Regions from separate parts of the Homo sapiens genome. Here region 2 is linked to region 1. The links are contacts of gene promoters, found by promoter capture Hi-C in human tissues and cell types (Jung and others, 2019). All regions are on one chromosome and are shown on one strand. Each heading gives the region's core, a stretch centred on a gene start or on the middle of the fragment in contact. The rest is flanking DNA. Distances are from core to core; before and after follow the strand shown. Region 1 holds the start of C16orf90 (chromosome 16 open reading frame 90). Region 2 overlaps ZNF75A (zinc finger protein 75A).

Region 1 (7,225 bases), core at 3,293-5,792:
CAGCGTAGTGCACAAAGCGATTGGTTGGCATCAGGTTATTTCAGATGCATTTCTTTGGGTTAAAGCAGAGGGGGCTTCCTTATGCCAGCCTAGGTGGACAGGGCCCCTTTTGTTGGTTGCAGTGAATCTTCTGTGTTTTGGCAGACTGGCCTGTCTCTAAGTTCGCATTGATTACGTGGCACCTTGCACTAGCGATTCCATTCTGGTTTGGTCTGGTCCGTTGGTACCTTGTGCAGGAGCTCGCTCCAAAACAATGGCCTCCCATAAATGTTGCTTCACGTGTTATTAAGAAAAACAAAAGATAAGCCACAGTCTAGAAGAAAATATGCACAAAACACATATCTGATAAAGAGACGTGTATCCAGAATGTATCAAGAACTCTCAACACTCAATAATGAGAAACAGTCTAATTAGAGAATGGAGAAAACATTTTAAAAGCTACTTCACAAAAGAAGATATATGGATGGCTAATATGCAAATGAAGAGATGATCAAGGCTATTATTAGAGAAGTGCATATTAAAACCACAATGAGATATCACTATGAAGTTATTAAACTGGCTAAAATATCAGGTAACACGTTAAAAACCTAAAAATTAAATCTAGATAAAATGGCTAAAACAACAAAAAACTCTTGACAATGCCAAGGGCTTGAAAGGATGTTGATCAACTTGAACTTTTTTTTTTGAGATGGACTCTTGCTCTTGTTGCCCAGGCTGGAGTGCAGTGGCACAATCTCGGCTCACTGAAACCTCCGCCTCCAGGGTTCAAGCGATTTTCCTGCCTCAGCCTCCGGAGGAGCTGGGATTACAGACGCGCGCCACCGCGCCCAGCTAATTTTTGTATTTTGGGTAGAGACGGAGTTTCGCCATGTTGGCGTGAGTCACCGCACGCGGCCTGCATTTCCCTGATGATTAAAGATGTTGAACATCTTTTTACGTGTTTGATGACCATTTGTATATTTCCATTGGAAAAATGTCTATTCATTTTCTTTGCCCATTTCAAAATTGGGTTGAACATCCTTTTGTTTTTGAATTGTAAGTGTTCTTTATATATTCTGCCTATGAGACCCTTATCAGATATATGATTTGCCAATATTTTCTTCCATTTCATAGGTTGTCTTTTCACTTTTTTTTGTTGTTGTTGTTTGTTTGTTTGTTTGTTTGTTTTTTGAGATGGAGTCTCGCTCTGTTACCCAGTCTGGAGTGCCAGTGGTGCGATCTCGGCTCACTGCAAGCTCTGCCTCCTGGGTTTACGCCATTCTCCTGCCTCGGCCTCCCAAGTAGCTGGGACTACAGGCGCCCACCACCACACCCGGCTAATTTTTTTGTATTTTTAGTAGAGACGGGCTTTCACCGTGTTTGCCAGGATGGTCTGGATCTCCCGACCTCATGATCCGCCCGCCTATGTTGGCCAGGCTGGTCACAAACTCTTGACCTCAGGTGATCTGACCACCTGAGTGTCCCAAAGTGCTGGGATTACAGGTGTGAGCCACCATGCCCAGCCGTGTTTCTGATTTCTGAAGATTTGCTTTTCCAAGATTGTTGTGGTTATTTGGGCTCCCTTGTAATTTCACATGAATTTTAGGATTAGCTTTTCCATTTCTGCTTGTGATGCTTAATTTTGTGTGTCAACTTGACTGGGATGCCTGATAGCTGGTAAAACATTATTTTTCAGTGTGCTTGTGTAAGCGTTTCCAGAAGAGATTAGCATTTGAATTGCTAGACTGAGTAAAAAAAAAGAAGATTGCCCTCACCAGTGTGGTGGGCATCATCCAATCTGCTGGGTGCCCAATTATGACAAAAATGCAGAGGAGGGGTGAATTCACACTCTCTTCATGGGCTGGGACATCCTTCTTCCCGTGCCCTTGGACATTGGAGCTCCTGGTTCTTGGACTTCTGGACACCAGGACTTACACCAGCCCTCACCCCCACCCCTACCCAGATTCTCATGCTTTTGAACCCAGACTTAATTACAGCACCAGTTTTCCTGGTTCTCCAGCTTGCAGGCAGCATATTGTGCGACTTCTCAGCCCGGATAATCACATAAGCCAATATCCCTAATAAATCTTCTCTTGGCTGGGCACGGCGGCTCACACCTATCACCCCAGCACTTTGGGAGGTGGAGGCAGGAGGATCACTTGAGCCCAGGAGTTCAAGACTAGCTCTGGGCAACATGGTGAGATCTCCATCAGCAAAAATTTAAAAAATTAAAAATTAAAAAATGAAAATAAATTAAAAAATTAGCCAGGCCTGGTGGTGCACACCTGTAGTCCCAGCTACTTGGGAGGCTAAGGTGGGAGGATTGCCTGAGCCTGGTAAGTTGAGGTTGCAGTGAGCCGTGATCATGTCACTGTACTTCAGCCTGGGCAATGGAGCAAGGCCCTATCTCAGAAAAAATTATATAAGGAGATTTATTTATCCTCTAATAAATATTTTCTCTGTAAATATCTATATACATTCTGCTGACTATATTTCTCTGGAGAAGCCTAATACACTACATGAAGGCCATTTTGATTTTGATAAGAATTGTACTGAGCACTTTGGGGAGTGTTGCTATCTTAACAATATTAAGTCTTCAGTCCATGAACATGTGATGCTTTCCAATTTATTTAAGTCTTTAGATTCTCTCAGCAATGTTTTATAGTATTCAGAGTTGTCTTATACCTCCTTGGTTAAATGTATTCCTATTTTATTCTTTTTATTCTTTGCTAGTATCTAGAAATACAATTAATTTTTGTGTGGTGATTTTATGACTTGAGATTTTTCTGAACTTCATTAGCTCTGAAAAAGCTCTACTAGGTTCAGGATTTTTTTTTTTCAAGTATGAATTATTTAATATTTCCTACATACAAGATCAGGTTGCTGGGCGCGGTGGGTCATGCCTGTAATCCCAGCACTTTGGGAGGCCGAGGTGGGCGGATCACCTGACGTCAGGAGTTTGAGACCAGCCTGGCCAACATGGCGAAAGCCTGTCTCTACTAAAAATACAAAGATCCGTTGGGCGTGGTGGTGGGTGCCTGTAATCCCACCTGCTGGGGAGGCCGAGGCAGGAGAAGCTCTTGAACTCGGGAGGCGGAGGTTGCAGTGAACCGAGATCGCGCCACTGCACTCCAGCCTGGGCGCCAAAGTGAGACTCCATCTTAAAAAAAAAAAAAAAGAAAAGAAAAAAAGAAAAATCAGGTCGTCTGTGACAAGAGAAAATTGAATGTTTTAACTTTTTGTTTTTTTGTCAGCATCCAAAATCTTTTTAATAAGAGGGTTCGTTTTTGTAGCCTCGGCTGGCCCGTAGGCCTCTGGCGCGCTCGAACTTCTGGTCCCTGGAGCGGAAATAGCGTTTGGTGTGGCTGTGTGGGGTTCCCAGGGCCTTGCCGAAATGCCGGTACACCTGTCGGCCCTTGCGAAGACCGGAGAGTAGGACGGGGCCGCCGTCCTTGAGGGAGTCCAGGGCCAGCTGATCGAAAGTCAGGATCTTGGCCCCCACCCTGAGGATGCCGCTGTGGGCCGGCTGGTCACGGGCAGCGCACACACCTTAAGTTTGGGCACCTCCTGAACCCTCGCGTCATCCGTTAAGCGTCCCCACAACCACGGCCGTTTTGTTTTCCCAGCCAGGAAGCTTCATCTTCCGGATCATCCGGGAAACGGACAGAGGTGGCCGGTTGGTGCGACTCATAAACAACCTCTTCAGCACAACCTGGTTGAATGTGGAGTTAGTTCGTCTGGACGGTAACCTGTACAGCTTGACCAACAAACAGCCTCAGTTAGATATCCTGGCTCTTGGGCTCTTTGCGCCGAACCTTTAGGTCCTTCTTGTGGCGGACGTCAGCTCCCATGATGGCGCTTCCTGCTTGGCCAGGTCCGGAAAGATGAATGTTTAACTTTTTTTTTTTTTTGAGACGGAGTCTCGCTCTGCAGCCCAGGCTGGAGTGCAGTGGCGCGATCTGGGCTCACTGCAAGCTTCGCCTCCCGGGTTCACGCCATTCTCCTGCCTCAGCCTCCTGAGTAACTGGGACTACAGGCTCCCGCCACGACGCCCGGCTAATTTTTTTGTATTTTTAGTAGAGACGGGGTTTCACCGTGTTAGCCAGGATGGTCTCGATCTCCTGACCTCATGATCCGCCCACCCCGGCCTCCCACAGACCTCAACTGATCAGCCTGCCTCGGCCTCCCACAGTGCTGGGATTACAGGCATGAGCCACCGCCCCCAGCCCCTTTTCAGCATTTTCAAAGTACCGACCTAGGTCTTCCTAGGTCTGTACTCCTGAACCCTCATTTCCCACCCCAGATGAGGAAGCTGGCCCCAAGAGATCACCTGAGAGAAGGACTCTCCAGTTTGCCAGAGCTGTCTGTTTTATGTGGCCTGACCCCAGCCAGAGGGACCAGGGACTTCCCCCAGGGTTCTGGCCCCTTCCCATGCCTTTCTTTCACCCTGCCCTTGCCTTGGGCACTGTCCTCTCCCAAACTAGGGGTCCAGGAAGGCTGGGAGTCTTCCCCGTGATGTCATAAGAACCAGTTGCCAGGGGAGACCTGCCAATGTACCCCCTAGGCAGGGGAGAGCAGGGCCCTGCTGCACCCAAGTCCTGGTTGCTCCTCCCCACCACACTGGCCCTCCATGGAAGCCTTGGTCTGTGCATTTTCTGAGCTGCACATAAGAGAAGGTGCCGGGCTGTGGGGAGGAGTGGCAGGAAGAGAGATAGGCTTCTGTCCCCACCTGGGCCCAAAGCCGAGGGGTGGCCTCAGGGACATGTATGCTTGGGAGAGGGGAATGGCCACTGGGCCAGGCCATGAGCCCCTGGGCTGGCCACTTTCTCTCAAACCCACTGTGCAATTTCTCTGTGGGGACCAGAATACTCTTCCTAGGGTAGCGGGCAGAACAGGGTAGTAGAAAGGACTTGAGGTCCTGAAAGCACTCTTAGTACCAAGGCCCGAGGCTTCCCAGGCCTCCCTGTTGGTTGGGAGTGGGAAGAGGAGTCGTGTCTTGGGCATGGGCAGGGGAGGCAGTGGACTGAGACTATTTGACACACAGGTAAACTGAGGCCAGGTTGGCTGGGGGTGTAGCCCATCATGTGAGCTGGTCTCAGAGGTATGTGACTGCACCCTCCCCTCATGGCTGCTGTGGGGGGCTGGCCACCACCCTCCCGCTGTCTCCTCTGCAGATGCAGTGAGCCAGGCCCAAGGACGCCCCGGCCACCCTGACGCACCCCCCAACATCTACGAGGGGGGCCTGGGGTCCCCGCAGCCGCAGTGCCCCAGTGCCCAGGGAAGCAAGCCCAAGAACTTCCGGCTGCGCCACCTCCGGGGCCTGGGCCTCTACCTGGAGAGCCACCCGCCACCCACTGGCCAGTGTGAGAGCCACTGGCTGGGCCGGCTTATGGCTGGGGGCTGCCTGCCACAGCCTGAGGGCACAGCCTGGGCCCTGGACCTGCCACAGGGGACTCTGGGCCCACGTAACAGCCTCTGTTCAGCCCTTCTGGAAGCCCGATTGCCCAGGGACAGCCTGGGAAGCAGTGGTGAGCTCTGTCAAGGCAGGACTGGGCACGGGGGAAGACCCTAGGGGATGGTTGGGCTGGGGCCTCAGGCGGGCCCTTCTCCACTCCCAAGCCTCCACAGTGGCACCATGCCCCAGAAGGCCAAGATCTTGATGAATCTGTCCCCATCTCTGCATCACGCACAGCTAAGCGGGGTCTGGAGAATCCACCAGGGACAAAGCGGTGCGAGAAAAAGGGAGGATCTGGGAGGGAGGGCTGGGTGACTGCCCCAGCTCCACACTCGGTGAGGGGCCTTGGAATCTGTCTCCCTTGCTGGGCCTCAGTTTTCTCACTTGTAAAATGAGGGTTCAGGTTAGATGAGGGTCCTTCCAGCTTGAACCATTCTGTTCCCTCAACCTCCTCCCTCCCCTGGGGATTCTGTTAAGGAGGAAGCATTGCCCTCCTCCCTTCTGTTTTCAAGAATATCGGATTCTGGAAACCCCAGGGTGGGCTGCCAGCCTCCCCCCCAGCCTCCCCTTGGGTCCCTCAAGTGACTCCTTTCTCTCCTCTTTCCTCAGCTTCCAGTTCCAGCATGGACCCAGACAAGGGTGCCCTCCCCCAGCCTAGTCCTTCTAGGCTCAGGCCCAAGAGGTCCTGGGGGACCTGGGAAGAGGCCATGTGTCCCTTGTGCAAGAGAACCCGCTCTGGGGCCCTGGAGAGGCCATAGGGATCCCGAGTGCCAGGACTGGGTACAGGAGGGGCAGGATGGCCGAGGAGGCAGCCTGAGCAGGAGGGGCTCGGCCCCCGGCAGTGGCCCTGCCACATGGGGTGGCCCAGGCAGCGGCCCAGCGCCCAGGCCTGGGCCTCGGGAGAATGTGATGGGGAGAGGGAGGAGGAGGAGGTTCCGAGGGAGGGGCAGAAGCAATAGAAGCATGGCCGTGCCCTTGCAGCCTGCTTAGACTCCAGTCAGCCACTTGTACCTGGGAGGCCGGGCTGAGTGCAGAATCAGGCCCCCCCGCCACCGCCTCCCTGAGAGGCCGGGGAGCCCACAGCTCTGATCTCAATAAAAGCCAAGGCCTGCACGTTCTTGTCCATCTGCCTGTCTGTCATCAGGCCAGTTTGGTGAGAAAAACAGTCCTGTGTCTCTCCAGGGATGGGTCTGCCGCGCCCCCACTCTTAGTTGCCAGGGCATGAGAGGCGTGAGCTAGGGCAAGGGCCTGTGGGAACACCATACTTGTCTGTGAGAGCTTCCTGGATGAGACACTGCTGAGCTTGGCTCCATAGGGTGGGTAGGGGCTCAACAGCCCACCTTTTCAGCCACCATGCCTGGCTAATTTTCTTTTCTTTTTTTTTTTGAGATGCAGTCTAGAACTGTCTAGAGGCCAATTTAGAGCCAGTTTTCTTTGGGGCCAGCATGTGGCTGCAGCAGATGTCCTTCTCAGGGGTGAGATCCTGGCTACGGCTGTCTGTGGCTGAGTTACAGACTGTCTTTTTTTTTTTTTTTTTTTTGAGACGGAGTCTTGCTCTGTGGCCCAGGCTGGAGTGCAGTGGTGCAATCTCGGCTCACTTCAAGCTCCAACTCCCAGGTTCACGCCATTCTCCTGCCTCAGCCTCCCGAGTAGCTGGGACTATAGGCGCCCGCCACCGCGCCCGGCTAATTTATTTGTATTTTTTTAGTAGAGACGGGGTTTCACCGTGTTAGCCAAGATGATCTCCATCTCCTGACCTCAGCCTCCCAAAGTGCTGGGATTACAGGCGTG
Region 2 (6,230 bases), core at 783-3,282, 170 kb after region 1:
AAGACTTGAAATACACATAGGAAGAAAGGCCCAAAAATAAATGTTAACTTGTCAAAAAAAAAAATTTCAACAGTAAGCTTTCTTAGTTTCTCCTAAAAGGTGCATCATATCCAAACACTGTAAAGCTTGATTTTTAATGTCAGCGCTAAGATTGGTGCAACTCAAGATTCATTATCTGAACTGTGGCAGAAATGAAAAGTGATTCAGATAGTTTTCTTAAATCTGAAATGCAATGCAAAAGGTAGCTTGCTTAATTCCTTTCACAGGAGGGATTCAGACTAGGCGAACTGCTTTAGGCAAAGTACACGCATTATCAGATTTGGGTGAATCGTACAGGAGAAAAGCCTTACAGACGCTCGACTGAAGAAGGCATTTCAGTACAGCCCAACTACCATTGCCCAGTGGAGGATTAATACATGAAGGAAACCTAGGCATGTAGCAAATTTGGTTGATGTTTCAAACAGTGCCCTCATCTCGGTCCCCAGTGAACCCACACAAGAAAAAGTGACAGGTGTAGAAAAGATTCAGAAACAAAAGTATGCTTTTTGTTTGGGTGGATTTCTACTGGGACAAACAGTAGAAACGTGAAGTATGGGCAAAACTTTGTTTCCCACTTGAGGGGACTTCAGAGAGTCTACATAGGAGAGAATTCAGTCCACAGAGAATGTGGGGAGAGCTTCAGCAAGTATTTATGCACTAGAAAACCTCCAAGAGAAGAGTAACAGGGCAGCCTTCATCACACATGACAGGGAGGAGTGACCAGGAAATGCTGGAGTAAATGCTTCAGTGGCATGACTCAACAAATATTTGGAAAATCCTTTATGAACTCCCATCTTTTGTTACCAATTGTCCATTTGGATAAAAGAGGCTGCTGGGCGTTCTTCCTCAAACTTACCTGGGAAATTAAACACTGTTCTCAGTAGTTCCAAAAGTTAACAGAAACCCTAGGAGTTTTAGTTTTGAGATTTACTTTGATTCTAAGCCCCTCCTGTTCTTCCCCTCCAGTTAAAAGATATCTGAGGTTGGGCATGGTGGCTCATGCCTGTAATCTCAGTACTTTGGGAGGCCAATGCAGGAGGATCACTTGAGCTTAGGAGTTCAAGATCAGCCTGGGCAACATAGCAAGACCTCATCTCTACTAAAAGTAAAAAAATAATAACCCAGGCATGGTGGCACGTGCCTGGAGTCCCAGATACTCAGAAGGCTGAGGTGGGAGGATTGCTTGAGACTGGGAGATCGAGGCTGTGGTGAGCCCCAGCCTGGGCAACAGAGACCCTTGTCTCAAAAATAAAATATATCTGAGGTTCTCAAGGTGAGCTCAAGGTCCAGTCTGCTTAACGGCAGGGAGAACTCTAGGTCTGGGATGGTCCCAGCACTGAACTTAGACTAGTGCAGGGGACAGGTCAGGAGACTAGACGGGGTCAATGATACAGTTCTCTGAAATAACCGTGAAGCCACGGTAAGGCTGCTATCTGAACATGCTAAAATAAAGCATCCTTCTTGTTTCCTGGAAATCATCTGCCGGTTTATGGAGGACATATTTGTGCATTTAGTACTAATTAGTGCATTTAGTACTAATGTTTAAGGCTAAACCTAGGATTATGTGTCTCTCATTTCATTTTTAAAGCAAGCCTCAATAGATTTTAATATCATGGTTTAAGTAATTTGTTCTCATATCATCTGATATCATTTTAGTAATCCAATCTCATCTCAAGCTACAGAAATCCCTTCTTCCACTCCCCACCCCACAAATTCCAAGGTTGTTATGAGACATCATGTTATGTGCAGCAGCTGGGTACTGGCTAAGCTACGACTTTCCCCCTGGAGGATTCTCACTCCACAGGTGGAACTGTCTTGCTCCTGCCTCCCTGCCCAAGTTTCTCCCCAGTTGTCCGTCATCCCTTAGTCCAGGAAGATAGCCACCTTACTGTCTACACTGATCTGGACAAATTTGCTTTTGCCCTATATCTCATCTGTTTTCTGAGGCACAACTCACTGAAGATACAACAGAGGTAGTTAACAAACCATTCTTTGAAATCTCCTGCATGCATATGAGGAAGGCAATCCCTACCCCCTAACCCCCACCATAGCCCATTCATCAATAGCAATGCCTGTTTTGTGCATGAGGCAACGCGCAGGGAGACAAAGAATAAGGGAAGTGGAATAAGGCCAGATAGGGAAGGAGGGTTGCCTTGTCCCCTTGAACTGACCTCCCATAAGATTTGTCCAAGACAGCAATGTCTTTCTTCCCTATCATCTACAGTCTTGGGAGGTCTTAAGTGGTCCCATTAGTGTTGCATCAGCTCAGTTTAGTATCCACGGGAAGCCAGGTCTCTTTTGAGGGCCAAAGGCTAGGCAGAATGAAAATGGAAAGGTCCAGAGCTCCAGCAAAACAGTCACTCCCCCAGCTGCCCTTTTCCAAGCTCTATTAAGATAGGCCAGGTTGGCCAGGTGCGGTGGCTCACGCCTGTAATCCCGGCACTTTGGGAGGCCGAGGCGGGTGGATCACGAGGTCAGGAGACCAAGACCATCCTGGCTAACAAGGTGAAACCCCATCTCTACTAAAAATACAAAAATTAGCCAGGCGTGGTGGCGGGTACCTGTAGTCCCAGCAACTTGGGAGGCTGAGGCAGGAGAATGGCATGAACCCAGGAGGCGGAGCTTGCAGTGAGCTGACATTGCGCCACTGCACTCCAGCCTGGGCAACAGAGCGAGACTCCGTCTCAAGAAAAAAAAAAAAGATAGGGCAGGTTATGCTACAGAAACACATAGCACCAATGTCTCAGTGATTTAACAGAACAAATGTTTATTTCTTGTTCTCACAAAGTTCACTATAGGTCTGGAGACTCTTGGGAATAGCCGCCCTCCATGCAGTGGCTCAGTGTTCTGGACTGCTTTGATTTCATGGCTGCTCTCTCTGTATGTGGTTCCATGATTAAGGCAGGAAAGGAGAGCACTGGCCTTGTACCAGCAAAAAAATAAAAAAAAAAATAAAAAAAAAAAAATGAAAAGCTTCAGCCAGAGGCTCACAATGCTCACAACTCATTGACCAAAACTATCTCATACCCGTCTTAGAGCAAGGAGCAGGAAAGCAAAACCATTCTTCTTACTGTTCACTGGAATACAAGTTCCATGAGGGGATGCAATTTTGTCTCTTGGCCACTCCTGTGTCCTCAGAGTATAGGACAGTGCCTGACACATCATAGGCCTTCATTAAATTGAACAGAATGAATGAATGTAGGGCCAGAAAGAAAGCCACACATGATCTGGGAGAAGAAACAGAATCCTGGAGGTCTTAAGTTAAGGTGGTGCTGGGTAAGAGCTATGTAGACCAGAGCTCCAGAGTTGGCTGTACTTAAGAAACAATTAGTATAGGCTGGGCACAGTGGCTCATGCATGTAATCCCAGCACTTTGGGAGGCCGAGGCGGGTGGATCACTTGAGGTCAGGAGTTCGAGACCAGCCTGCTCAACATGGTGAAACCCCGTCTCTACTAAAAATACAAAAAATTAGCCAGGCGTGGTGGTGGGTGCCTGTAATCCCAGCTACTCTGGAGGCTGAGGCAGAAGAATTGCTTGAATCTGGGAGGTGGAGGATGCAATGAGCTGAGATCACACCATTGCACTCCAGCCTGAGTGACAAGAGCGAAACTCTGTCTCAAAAAAAATAAAATAAGAGGTTTGGAAGAGGTCAGTTATTTAACCCCTTTCCTGATATACCTAAGAGCTCTAAAAGGAATGCACCTGAGTCACTGCTGTAGCTAAACAAGCAAGTTGTAAGAAAATCCATAGGCTATACAGACTTTTGGCAATCCATCAAATTTATCACCTGAGGCTGCTGTTAAATGCTGTGCTGGAAAGAACAAAGACAGGTAGAGCTTACAGGACAGGACAGAACAACATGGATGTAGATTTGCTCATCCTCGCCCAACACTTAGCACCAGTGCCCAAATCTTTTATTTAGGGAACCGTCTCCTGCTGACTACATGTCCAGGTCTCCATGCCAAATGAGCCACAGGATCCTGCCTGCAGCACACACACTCCAACTCCCATGGAAATTAAGTCTCTCATTCTTAACAACAAAGAAAAGCCAATTAAAAAGTAAACAAACAAAACTGAGAAGTTGATCTTAATTCCCACTAATTCTCTTTCAGGCCTTGGGCAAGTACTAATTTTTATAGCTGCTTTATCCTACTGACATTGCAAGGCAGGGATTAACAAGTCTAGTTTCTTTTATTGCAGAAAATTCTTTACATCTAATATATATTCCATGGCTACAAATTCCAACCCGTTTCCCCCATGATTCCATTAGAGATGTCTTCTATTTTCCAAACATCACCAATGAGAGGCATAAGACAGTGCATTAATAGTTCATCTGGAGATTCCCTAGTGGTGGTTAACAAGATTTCATCACAGTAAAAAACTGTGATAACAGGATCCAAGAGAAGTTGCCGAAAAGTTTAAGAAGGAACTCAAGTGATGTCCAACTTTGCAAACCGTGTCCAATGACAAAAGAAAGAAAATCCAATTTGGTTCCTGGAACACTTTACATTGTAATTCATTTCGGCCTCATGAGACTATGGAAATTGGTAAGCCTGCTACTGTGAAGAGAATGGTATGCAATTAAACATGCATGTTACTGCTTTTTGTTTTGGAAGACCATGCTGCCAATGTTTCTATTGGATGTGTTCAAAAATGACTGGAGAGATCAATACAAAGCCAACAATGTTTACTTCTGTGACCACAGAAGACTACTGAGTGGCTGCAGAGCAAGTCTTGATTATTTTCTGTGAAATGTATGTTTATCCCATTTTCTGATGTAAAATTTTTCAAGGTTTGTGATTTTTCTTTTACATAAATTTTAGTGCCAAGCTCCATTTGGTGAATGTCTTCAGAATGAGGACACTGGACAAGCTTCTCTTCACAGGTGGAGTTTCTGGTGTCTAAGAAGGCTTGACCGCCTGCTGAAGTTTCTCCTGCATATGCTACAAGTATATGGCTGCTCACCTGTGTGGGTTCTCCGGTGTTTAATAAGGTGGGAGTTCTGACTGAATTTTTTTCCACATTCATGACATGTGAAGGGCTTTTCTCCTGTATGAGTTCTTTGGTGTGTATGTAAATTTGTATTTTGACTGAAGCTTTTCCCACACCATGAACATTTATATGGTTTTATTCCTTGGTGTGTTGTTAAGTGCTTATTAAGATCTGAACTCCATCTAAACCTCTTATCACACTGTTGACATTTATAGGGTTTCTCTTCAGTGTGAATTCTTTGGTGCTTAATAAGGTCAGAGCTAACTCTGAAGGTTTTCCCACATTCCTGACATTTAAAAGGCTTCTCTCTTGCACAATCTTTCTTGTGACGATCCATAAGTTTGAGCAGCTCTTGTTTCCAGGTTGAAAGTTTCTTTCTTTTCTTCACTGGAAAATCTTGGTGCCATTTTCCCACTCTGTGCATATCAAAATGATTTTCTTTGCCTGCTGTTTTCTGGGGAACTTTTACTTTGGCCTTTTTTGATATGACGCCTGCTGATGCTTGTATTTCTAAGTCAGAAAGAGACACAGGCTGATGATTTTCAGTGTCGTTTTTGAGCTTTAACCCTGTTGGAATAAACATAATCACACATCTGTATCCCAGAACAAGCAAATCACAGGAATAAAAAGAAAAATTCAATGATTAAAAAAAAAAGGAACAAAATCTTAAAATGTTAAGCCCTTGCAAAAGTTCACATCAAGGCACATTTCTCCACTTCCCATGGTATATTTACCTGTAGGAGATTTTCCGGCACTATCCTTAAACTCCGGGGATACTTGAACCCATGGCTCTTCCCCTTGCTCTAGACAGGAGATCACTTTAGGTTTGGGGAGCACAAACAATGCTGTCAAATGGACAAAATGAGGTCAAGGACTGGTAACTTAACAGTGAACTGGTCCACTAATCCCAGACTGTTTCAGGATGACCAAAGACATTTTACAATTTGTTACTCCAAATGGTTAAATGGATAGACTCCAAGATTAAGTATCACGTTTATACTATGTTATACTTATAGGTAGCTATGCAAAGCAGAGACTAAGAAATAAATCTACGGTGGATCAATGAAAAGGATATAGGGAATGGGAATCCAGTACATGTTCTCTCTCTTTTGCCATCAATACCCTATATCCAACCAAGGGGGAACCAAGCTCCAGAAGTTGCAGGGAATATAAGCTGGTCTTATTAACTCTTCAGAAG

What was found. Contacts are between HindIII fragments. The study calls those that stand out against the background at their distance.
Region 2: a contact is called between a fragment that was not itself captured here and the fragment with the promoter of C16orf90 in region 1, in 1 of the 25 tissues and cell types used here (spleen).

The regions. Positions count from the first base shown.
Region 1 is chr16:3,492,806-3,500,030 of GRCh38, reverse strand. It overlaps C16orf90 (chromosome 16 open reading frame 90), which reads left to right and starts at 4,542. Exons shown (of 3, transcript NM_001080524.2): 1 at 4,542-4,655; 2 at 5,154-5,507; 3 at 6,044-6,547. The coding sequence starts at 4,610. The coding sequence ends at 6,192. It also overlaps a transcript of CLUAP1 not described here and the pseudogene RPL18P12. RefSeq lists a silencer at 6,774-6,983. The HindIII fragment of the contact is 9,668 bases long and covers 3,785-7,225 here.
Region 2 is chr16:3,316,559-3,322,788 of GRCh38, reverse strand. It overlaps ZNF75A (zinc finger protein 75A), which reads right to left. Exons shown (of 7, transcript NM_001302109.2): 6 at 5,767-5,877; 7 at 3,938-5,599. The coding sequence ends at 4,920. Among named protein-coding and RNA genes, the nearest start is that of ZNF75A, 14 kb to the right of the region's middle. The HindIII fragment of the contact is 3,861 bases long and covers 102-3,962 here.